2 separate regions of the Homo sapiens genome follow, and region 2 is linked to region 1. The links are contacts of gene promoters, found by promoter capture Hi-C in blood cells and fetal thymus (Javierre and others, 2016). All regions are on one chromosome and are shown on one strand. The core of a region is centred on a gene start or on the middle of the fragment in contact, and the rest is flanking DNA. Distances in the headings are between cores, read along the strand shown.

The links. The method cuts DNA at HindIII sites, captures the fragments that hold promoters and counts their contacts. A CHiCAGO score of 5 or more calls a contact.
Region 2: a fragment that was not itself captured here is called in contact with the fragment with the promoter of LUARIS in region 1 in 4 of 17 cell types (non-activated CD4 T cells, activated CD4 T cells, total CD8 T cells and 1 more); the score reaches 5.7 in non-activated CD4 T cells.

The regions. Positions count from the first base shown.
Region 1 is chr7:43,519,396-43,524,662 of GRCh38, forward strand. It overlaps LUARIS (lncRNA upregulator of antiviral response interferon signaling), which reads right to left and starts at 3,147. Exons shown (of 3, transcript NR_038276.1): 1 at 2,893-3,147. The region is part of intron 24 of HECW1 (HECT, C2 and WW domain containing E3 ubiquitin protein ligase 1); the gene reads left to right. The HindIII fragment of the contact is 11,394 bases long and covers 3,056-5,267 here.
Region 2 is chr7:43,713,172-43,718,438 of GRCh38, forward strand. All of the region lies in intron 1 of COA1 (cytochrome c oxidase assembly factor 1), which reads right to left. Among named protein-coding and RNA genes, the nearest start is that of COA1, 14 kb to the right of the region's middle. The HindIII fragment of the contact is 2,789 bases long and covers 2,341-5,129 here.

The DNA of each region.
Region 1 (5,267 bases), core at 1,897-4,396:
CTATCACACCCGGCTAATTTTTGTATTTTTAGTAGAGACGGGGTTTCACTATTTTGGCCAGGCTGGTCTCAAACTCCTGACTTCATGATTGGCCCGTCTCGGCCTCCCAAAGTGCTGGGATTACAGGCGTGAGCCACCGCGCCTGGCCTAGTGCAGACTTTTAAAAGCTATGCTGGACTGCCGCACAAAACACCCAGGTGTGTTTATTTCAGCATTGTTTGTAAAGACACAAACCTAGAAGCAATGCAAATGTCCATCGGCAGGGGAATGGTTAAATGTATTACAGCAGATCCACACTGCACAGTCATATGAGGCATAAAAAAGACTGAATTAGAACCTTACCAGGTGATAGAGAAAGATTTCCTCAAGATATTGTTGAGAGAAGAAAAGCAGAAAAGCATGAAAAACGCAATTCAAAAACTGAAAAATAGTAACCCCAAGCCTGTGTGTATGTAGCTAGAGATATGTAAATATAAATATATTAGTATGTGATTATATGATTCAGATAAAAAATATGGAAGGGCACATTTTAGATTATCAATATGTGTCACAGGAGATGAGCCGAGGTAACAGGAGCCAGCCATGCCAGGAGAAGCCAAAGTCTATATAAAAATTACATCTGTGGGTAAAAAATAAATAAATCTCTTACAGCCAAGATGCCATTTGGTAAAAATGTCTTAGCTTAATTATTAGTGGTAAACAAATGTCTTAGATATGCATTCATCAATGCACTATTCTTATCACCTAAGGACTTGATGCTGGGTTCTACAAACTGTTCTACACATGAGCTCCTGGCATATTGTGAATGCCTCATGTATATGGTACAACTATGCTCACCCTACCCTGGGTCTCTTCCCTTCTTTATCTCTTTTTCCATTTATCCCCCCTTTACTCAGCACAGACCTCTTTACTAATTCCCTACTGTCTACGAAATGGAGTCTGGACTCCTCGGATTCTCAGGACAGCCAAAGCACGAGGACCACCTGCCTTGAGACACCATCTGCCTCTCCCGGGCAGCTCCTCCTCTGCCCTCCCCACGCTTCCTTAGGCTTTGCTCTGCTGCCCATATGTGCGCGATTGTTTCTTCTGTTCTTCTTCTCTCATTTACATGGGCGCAAATTTCCTACCCTGAAAATCCACTTAAAATACTGTGTAGTTCATTCATGATTTCTTCATGATTTCCTGCACCTTCTCAAGACAAATATGTTCATCTTCTCTTGAATTATTTTTTTATTATTATTATTCTACTTTAAGGTTTTTTTTAAAAAAAACACAAAGGTTTCCAAACCCTTTTAGCTGGAACCTTGTTCTCCAATCTAGAACAGACGAAAGTGAAGCCTTGCCTCTGGCAAGGAGGGGTGCCTGGTTCACTGAGCCCCTCAGGCTCTTCCTCCTCCCCATCTCTATGCTTCTGTGCAAAATAGCTTGAGAAAGCACTGCTCTAATCTACTGTCTGCGTCTCTCCTTCCATCCCTCCCTGGCCACTTTGTGTTAGCTTTTAAACTGGATCAGGGCAACATCTTATTGTTCAGGTTTGCCCTCTGCAGCCAGCGTGGTTTCTGGCATGGAGGCAGCACCCTTCAGGTCCTGAGGCAGGTGCCACACAGCAAAAGGCAAACCCAGGTTTCATGCCTGCTCCAACTCTCAGTAGAACCTGGGCAGCTTTCTTAACCTATCTGAGTCTCAGCCTCCTAGTTCACCAAAAGGACATAAGAGTGCCTGATGTGGTTTGACGGATGCGTCTCTCAGAATTCATATGTTGAAACTTAATCACCAACGTGATGATATTAAGAGGTGGGGCCTTTAAGAAGTGATTAAACGATGAGGGCAGAGTCATGAATGGGAGTAAGGCCCTTATAAAAGGCCTTGAGAGAGTGAGTTTGCCCACTAGGTACAGTAGCACCACCACGATCACCCCCAGCTGTCACAACCAAAAATGTTTCCAGACATTGCCACAATTCTCCTAGGAGGCAAAATCACTCTGTTGAGAATCACTGTTTTCATGATGGAAGACTGGAAAAAGAAAAGGTTAAGCAAAATTTTTGCAGGATTAAAAGTATTTCTGTAGGCCTAGAGTTTTAGGAAAACATTTTCAGCCTTGGAATACGTCATGGCTGCGGGTTGAATATATGTGTTTTTCCAAAATTCATAGGTTGAAACTTAACCCCCAAGGTGATGGTATTAAGAAGTCAGACCTTGGCTGGGCAAGGAAAGTCATGCCTGTAATCCCAGCACTTTGGGAGGCCAAGGCGGGTGGATCACCTGAAGTCAGGAGTTCAAGACCAGTCTGACAACATGGTGAAACCCCATCTCTACTAAAAATACAAAAATTAGCCAGGCGTGGTGGCACATGTCTGTAATCCCAGCTACTCAGGAAGGCTAAGGCAGGAGAATCGCTTGAACCTGGGAGGCAGAGGTTGCAGTGAGCCTAATTGCATTGCACTCCAGCCTGAGCAACAAAAGCAAAACTCCATCTCAAAAATAAACAACAACAGAAAAAGAAGTGAGGCGTTTGGGAAAGTGATTAAGTCATGAGGGCTCCACCTTTGTGAATGGGATCAGTCCCCCTATAAAAGAGGTTGAAGGGAGTGGCCTAGTCCCTTTTGCTCTTCCCATTCTGCCATTTGAGGATACCGCAAGGTGTCCATCTTAGAAGCAGAGAACAAGGCCTTACCAGACCCTGAATCTTTTGGCACCTTGATCTTGGATTTCTCAGCCTTCAGAGCTGTGAGAAATAAATTTCTATTATTTATAAATTACTCAAGCCATGGTATTTTGTTATAGCCACAGGAATGAACTAAGACACTCACATATTAGACTTCTCTGATTATTGGACCAGCATAACTGAACCACACACTTTAGTTTTCAAATGTTGGCAACTGAAGAACTTACTTTAAGTAATGACCTTCAAGTAATGACCAGGTGAGTCTCGGTGCAGTTAGTCCACTGAGTTCATGTCCTGATTCCCTGCTAGTCCATCCAGAAGAGAATCTCCCAGATGCTGTTATCATTTGCTTCCCAAGACAGTTGCCTCCTGGACTGAGTCAGAGGGAAAAGCTTAGATAGAAGCCACACCTCTGTCTCCAGCCATAAGCGGGCTGCTGGAAGGATTCCCACAGAGTTGCCATGGGCTCTTCATGAAGGCTGGAGGTTAGCTATGGCCCTGGCGTGCTCTCACCTGCCCCACAACAGCCACCTCACCCTCCAAGCAGGCCTGCAGCTGCGCAGGAGTTCTAGACACCATGCCTCAGTCCTCCCACAGGCCAAGAGGGAAAAATTACAAAGCAAACCACTGGTGGGGATGCCAGGGCCTACACCAAACCCCCTATTAGCTGTGGAGACAGGAGACTAGCCTGTGGCCAAACCCTGAACTCAGCCCACAAGAATGTGCACGGAGCACAGGGAATGACAGCAATGCTGGCCTTGGTATAAAAGCCAGGAGCAGGGAAATTTGATTGTGCCAGGAGGACAGGGAGCTGCAGAGAATCAAAACTCTGCTTCCCTAATATTTATTCCAAAAACAGCTCCGTGGTGGGGATGTTATTGCTGGCACTTCCGCCTACTCTTTGTACTGTGTGTTCTCTTTCCAAAGGTAGTTCTGCTTGTTTGTTTGTTTGTTTGTTTTGAGATGGAATTTCGCTCTTGTCCCCCAGGCTAGAGTGCAATGGTGCGATCTTGGCTCACTGCAACCTCCTCCTCCCAGGTTCAAGCAATTCTCCTGCCTCAGCCTCTCAAGTAGCTGGGATTACAGGTGTGTGCCACCAGGCCCGGCTAATTTTTGTGTTTTTAGTACATAAGGGGTTTCTCCATGTTGGCCGGGGGGGGTCTCGAACTCCTGACCTCAGTTGATTCACCTGCCTCGGCCTCCCAAAGTGCTGGGATTATAGTCATGAGCCGCCATGCCTGGCCTTGCTCGTATTTTTAAACACCAGCATCAAACAGCCCTGAAAACTGCTCTTTCTAGGAGCTTGGCTTTGTGGGGCCGCTAGAAGGATGCAAGGCCTTTGAGGAGACAATGTCAGAAGAGAGAGAAATCTTGAATTATAAGAGAGAGCAAAAAGTGGATGGAAGAAGAGCCCAGAGGAGGCAGGGAAAGACAATAGATAGCCCAAGTGAAGACATTAGCTTTGAAAGAGAGTCAGCCCCAGCAGGAGAATTGCTTGAACCCGGGAGGTGGAGGTTGCAGTGAGCAGAGATCTCGCCATTGCACTCCAGCCTGAGCAACAAGAGGGAAACGCCATCTCGAAAAAAAGAAAAGAGTCAGCCCCTTTTTCCTTGAGATCGAGGGAAATAAATGGCAAGTGTAGATTGCAGATGTACTTACTAATGAGAGAGGCGCCGAAAGCAAGAACCAGAGGGAGGGAGAGGCTGGTGATATGAGGGGGATTAGATAAAAAGAAGACCCCCCCAATTAGTGGGGTGTAAGGAGGCAAGGATGCATGTGCCTGCAGGCGGTGGTGTGAGAGGAGGCCAAGTGGAGCCATTCATACTCTCAGCTTCTAGAAAAGCCTCTGTCCTCCATCCCTTCTTCCAGTATCCATGAGGAAATGCAATGAGTGATGCCTAAGGCAAAAAACTTCACTTTTGACCTTCAGACTATGTTTTTCATCTTAAAAAAAAAGATGAGGGACTTGGAATGGGTGGTTCTCAAATTTTAGTCGGCAACTGCAGAATTTATTTTAAATGCAGATTTCCATAACCCACCCCATAGAGTCTGATCTCCAGGTACCTAGATCTTAACAAACACCCCAGGGATTCAGATACCAATGGAAGGGTCACCACCACCTTTGAGAAATTTTGCCTTAGATGTTAGCAGCGTCAAGAGTCTTTCAAAGAGTGTGAGAAAAAAAGCTGGCTGTTCATGCAGTTTTCACACTCTGAAATGAAATCTACCCCAGGCAGACACAACAGGTTTTCACTAGATTTTCTAATATATAAGAAGTTAGAAAATATGAGAAGACCAAACCTGAAGGCAGTAACACTGAGTAAAGCATGGAAACATACATTGTGTGGGAACGTCATGAAGTCTTATTACTTAAATAATGAGGTTGAGAAAGGATAATTATTTTTAATTAAACAAAGTTAGAAGGATAAGGAAAGAGGGGTATCTTTGAGATGGGTTTTTAAAAATGTAATAGAACTTAGCAATTATGAAGTACTTTTCATCTTCAAAGAACCTATTAACATTAAATTACTCTTTCTTTTCATTCTCCTGTGAGGTAAGTAAGCAAATACTAACATTATTATCCCTTATTTGTAGATGGGAA
Region 2 (5,267 bases), core at 2,485-4,984, 190 kb after region 1:
GAACTCCTGACCTCAAGTAATCTGCCCACCTTGGCCTCCCAAAGTGCTGGGGATACAGGCATGAGCCACCATGCCCAGCCTCAATACATATATATGTTATATAATGATCAAATCAGAGTATTTAGCATGTCCATCATCTCACGCACTTATCACTTCCTTCTGGTAAGAACACTCAAAAGCCTCTCTTCTAGCAATTTTGCTACAATACCTTACTATTAACCATAATCACCCTTCTGTGGAATAGAATACCAGAACTTATTCCTCCTAACTATAACTTTGTACTCATTTGAACGACCTCTCCCTACCTACCTTCCCCTCTCCCTGCCCAAGTCTCTGGTAAGTTTTATGGCTAGTCCTTTATAGAGCATCCTGTTTTTATTCATCTTCATCTCATCTCTCTGAATATATCTGTAATTGGGGTAGGAGATTGTTGGTAACTGTTTTTTTCCCCTGCAAAGTCTGTATTTCTTCCAAGTTGCTTTTTTGTTTTGCTTAATTCCCACCACCCACCTTTGATGCTGGATGCTTTCCTCAAATAACTGGTAATCCTTGGGTATTTGCTTATGATTAAGACTGGGGGTCTAGAGCTAGGTGCACTGGCTCAGGCCTGTAATTCCAGCACTTTGGGAGGCCAAGGTGGGCAGATCATTTGACATCAGGAGTTCGAGACCAGCCTGACCAACATGGTGAAAGCCTGTCTCTACTAAAAATACAAAAATTAGCCAGGCATGGTGGCGCACACCCATAATCCCAGCTACTCAAGAGGCTGAGGCAGAATTCCTTGAACCAAAGAGACAAAGGTTGCAGTGAGCCGAGATCACACCACTGCACTCTGTTTAAAAAATATATTAAAACACAGATGGCAGGAAAAAAAAATTAGCCAGGCACGGTGGTATGCACCAATAGTCCCAGCTACTCAGGAGGGAGGATCACTTGAGTCCGGGACTTCCAGGTTGCAATGAGGTAGGATCATGCCACTGCACTCCAGCCTGGGTGACAGAGCAAAACCATGTCTCTAAAAAAATTAAAAATAAAAATAAATAGTGAATCATCTTTTTGTAATAGAGTTATACTAAAACTTTAAAAGATTTTCTGTTTAAAAAATAAAGATACAATTATAAACCTATGGCTTATTACTAGTATGAACCAATACAGTATAAAAATTATATATTGAGGCTGGGTGTGGTGGCTCATACCTGTAATCCCAGCACTTTGGGAGGCCGAGGAGGGTGGATTGCCTGAGGTCAGGAGTTCAACGCTAGCCTGGCCAACATGGTGAAACCCCATCTCTACTAAGAAATACAAAAATTAGCCGGGTATGGTGGTGCAAGCCTGTAATCCCAGCTACTCGGGAGGCTGAGGCAGGAGAATTGCTTGAACCCGGGAGGCAGAGGTTGCAGTGAGCTGAGATAGTGCCATTGCACTCCAGCCTGGGCTACAAGAGCGAAACTCCATCTCAAAAAAAAAAAAAATTATATATTGAGAAAATGTATAAAAATGATTTGTATCTGACACAGACACGGGATACTAGAAGAAATTAAAAAAGAAACAATAGGGTGGGCACAGTGGCTCACATCTGTAATCCCAGCACTTTGGGAAACCAATGCAGATGGATCACTTGCAGCCAGGAGTTCGAGACCAGCCTGGCCAACATGGTGAAATCTCGTCTACTAAAACTACAAAAAATTTAGCTGGACATGGTGGTGCACACCTATAATCCCAGCTACTCAGGTGGCTGAGGCACAAGATCACTTGAGCCCGGGAGGTAGCAGTTGCAGTAAGCCAAGACTGCACCACTGCACTCCAGCCTGGGCAAAAGAGTGAGCCTCTTGTCTAAAAAAAAAAAAAAAAAAAAAAAAAAGGAAACATTTAATACAAAAATAAATGCCAAATAAAAATCATTCTAAAAACTGAAAGATAATACTGTATTTAGAAGTTATCATTCTTAATATGAAAGCTTGAAACACACCAAGTATTACTTGCCTTTTCCAATAGTCTTGAACTTTGTTTCATAATATTCCTGATACAGGAAAAAATTCATACATTTAACATTGACATTGATCAAATTAATCTGAGTGCATCAAACAGCATCTTTAAATTGAATGTTAAGGGTATGTTGCTTGGTGAAACTCCGTCTCTACTAAAAATACAAAAAAAAATGCCAGGCGTGGTGGCAAGCACCTGTAGTCCCAGCTACTCGGAAGGCTGAGGCAGGAGAATGGCGTGAACCCGGGAGGCAGACGTTGCAGTGAGCGGAGATCGTGCCACTGCACTCCAGCCTGGGCAACAGAGCAAGACTCTATCTCAAAAAAAAAAAAAAAGAGTATGTTGCTTCATATAAGCTTGTTTACCTTCTTAATGATTAACTATTTTGGCTGCCTCCTCTCATTTTTGTTTTGCCTTTGAATATTGCTTTCACTAATTTTAGATCAAGTTCTCATTTCATGTTGAAGTATCCCACAAAAACACTATATCTTTTTCTCTTGTAATTCCTCTCCTAAAGTATTTACAAAGGATGACAGTCTATAGTGAATATTTAAACTCAAAAACACCAACAAACACGGGTAGTATTTAGAGACACAATATAGCAAGAATAACACTACCTGATATGACTTGGCTCTGTGTCCCCACTCAAATCTCATCCTGAATCGTACTCCCATAATTCCCACGTGTTGTGGGAGGGACCCAGTGGGAGATAATCGAATCATGGGGGCAGTTTTCCGATAGTGAATAGCCTCAAGAGATCTGATGGTTTTATCAGGGGTTTCCGCTTTTGCATCCTCCTCATTCTCTCTTTGCCTGCTGCCATCCATGTAAGATAGGACTTGCTCCTCCTTGCCTTCTGCCATGATTGTGAGGCTTCCCCAGCCACATGGAACTGTAAGTCCAATTAAACCTCTTTCTTTTGTAAATTGCCCAGTCTCAGGTATGTCTTTATCAACAGCATGAAAACGGACTAATAAAGTAAATTGGTACCAGCAGTGGGGTGTTGTTGAAGATACCCAAAAATGTGGAAGTGACTTTGGAAGTGAGTAACAAGCAGAGGTTGGAACAGTTTGGAGGGCTCAAAAGAAGACACGAAAATGTGGGAAGGTTTGGAACTTCCTAGAGACTTGTTGAATGGATTTGACAAAAATGCTGATAGTGATATGAAGAGTAAGGTTCCAAGCTGAGGTGGTCTCAGATGGAGATGAGGAACTTGTTGGGAACTGGAGCAAAGGTGACTCCTGTTATGTTTTAGCAAGAGACTGGCAGCATTTTGCCCCACCCTAGAGATTTGTGGAACTTAGAACTTGAGAGAGATGATTTTTAGGGTATCTAGCAGAAGAAATTTCTAAGCAGCAAAGCATTCAAAAGGTAACTTGGGTGCTGTTAAAAGCATTCCATTTTAAAAGGGAAACAGGGCATAAAAGTTCAGAAAATTTACAGCCTGACAATGTGATAGGAAAGAAAAGCCCATTTTATGAGGAGAAATTCAAGCTGGCTGCAGAAATTTGCAAAAGTAGCAGGGAGCCCAATGTTAATCACCAAGACCATGGGGAAAATGTATCCAGGCCATGTCAGAGACTTTCACGGCAGCCCCTCCCATCACAGGACGAGAGGCCCAGGAGGAAAAAGTGGTTTTGTGGTCCAGGCCCAAGGTCCCCATGCTGTGTGCAGCCTAGGAACTTGGTGCCCTGTGTCCCAGCTACTCCAGCTGTGGCTGAAAGGGGCCAATGCAGAGCTTGGGTTGTGGCTTCAGAGAGTGGAAGCCTCAACCTTGGCAGCTTCCACATGGTGGTGAGTCTACAGGCACACAGAAGCTAAGAACTGAGGTTTGGGAACCTCCACCTAGATTTCAGAAGATGTATGGAAATGTATGGAAGCCCAGGCAAAAGTCTGCTGCGGGGTGGGGCCCTCATGGAGAACCTCTGCTAGGGCAGTGCAGAAGGAAAATGTGGGGTTGGAGCCCCCACACAGAGTCCCTACTGGGGCACTACCTAGTGAAGCTGTGAGAAGAGGGCCACCATCCTCCAGACCCCAGAATGGTAGATCCACTGACAGCTTGCACCATCCACCTGGAAAAGTCACAGACACTCAATGCCAGCCTATGAAAGCAGCCTGGAGGGAGGCTATGCCCTGCAAAGCCACAGGGGTGGAGCTACCCAAGACCATAGGCAGCTCCAACAGCATGACCCAGATGTGAGACCTGGAGTCAAAGGAGATCATTTTGGAGCTTTAAAATTTGACTGCCCCGCTGGATTTCAGACTTGCATGGGCCCTGAAACCCCTTTGTTTTGGCCAATTTCTCCTATTTGGAATGACTATATTTACCCAATACCTGTAAACCCATTCTATCTAGGGAGTAATTAGGTTGCATTTGATTTTACGGGCTTATAGGCAGAAGGGACTTGCCTTGTCTCAGATGAAACTTTGAACTGTGAACTTTTGGGTTAATGCTGAAATGAGTTAAGATTTTGGGGGACTGTCGGGAAGGCATGATTGGTTTTGAAATGTGAGGACATGAGATTTGGCAGGGGCCGGGGGGGGAACAATATGGTTTGGCTCTATGTCCCTATTCAAATCTCATCTTGAATTGTACTCCTATAATTCCCATGTGTTGTGGGAGGGACCCAATGGGAGATAACTGAATCATGGGGGCGGTTTCCCCCATACTTTTCTTGTGGTAGTGAATAAGTCTCACAAGATCTGATGGTTTTATCAAGGGTTTCCACTTTGCATCTTTCTCATTCTCTCTTTGCCTGCTGCCATCTATGTAAGACAGGACTTGCTCCTCTTTGCCTTCCACCATGACTGTGAGGATTCCCCAGCCACATGAGACAGTAAGTCCAGTTAAACCTCTTTCTTTTGTAAATTGCCCAGTCTCAGGTATGTCTTTATCAGCAGTGTGAAAACGGACTAATATACTACCATACAGAATAATATATTGTACTGCCAACTTTAGGACTTATTTTGCTTTCAAATTTTTTATTTCTTGAAACACCACTAATAGCGTTTATATGAAGTGGACTATGCATACAAATGTATTATTATTTATTTGTAAGAATAACTGTTAGCAGCAGATAGAGTATAAAAACACATTTATTTATAAGATGGCAACAGCTATGAGACTGGCTGTCTAGATCACAAGCTTATCTCCTAGATGCTCTTGTCTCAGCTCCCAGAGATGTACAACTTAAGGTTTTAGTCGGTGTCAGCATGTCCTGCTCTTGCTTTCCACTTGACATCAGTGGAGCTCTAAGAACCAATCACATCTAATACTATTG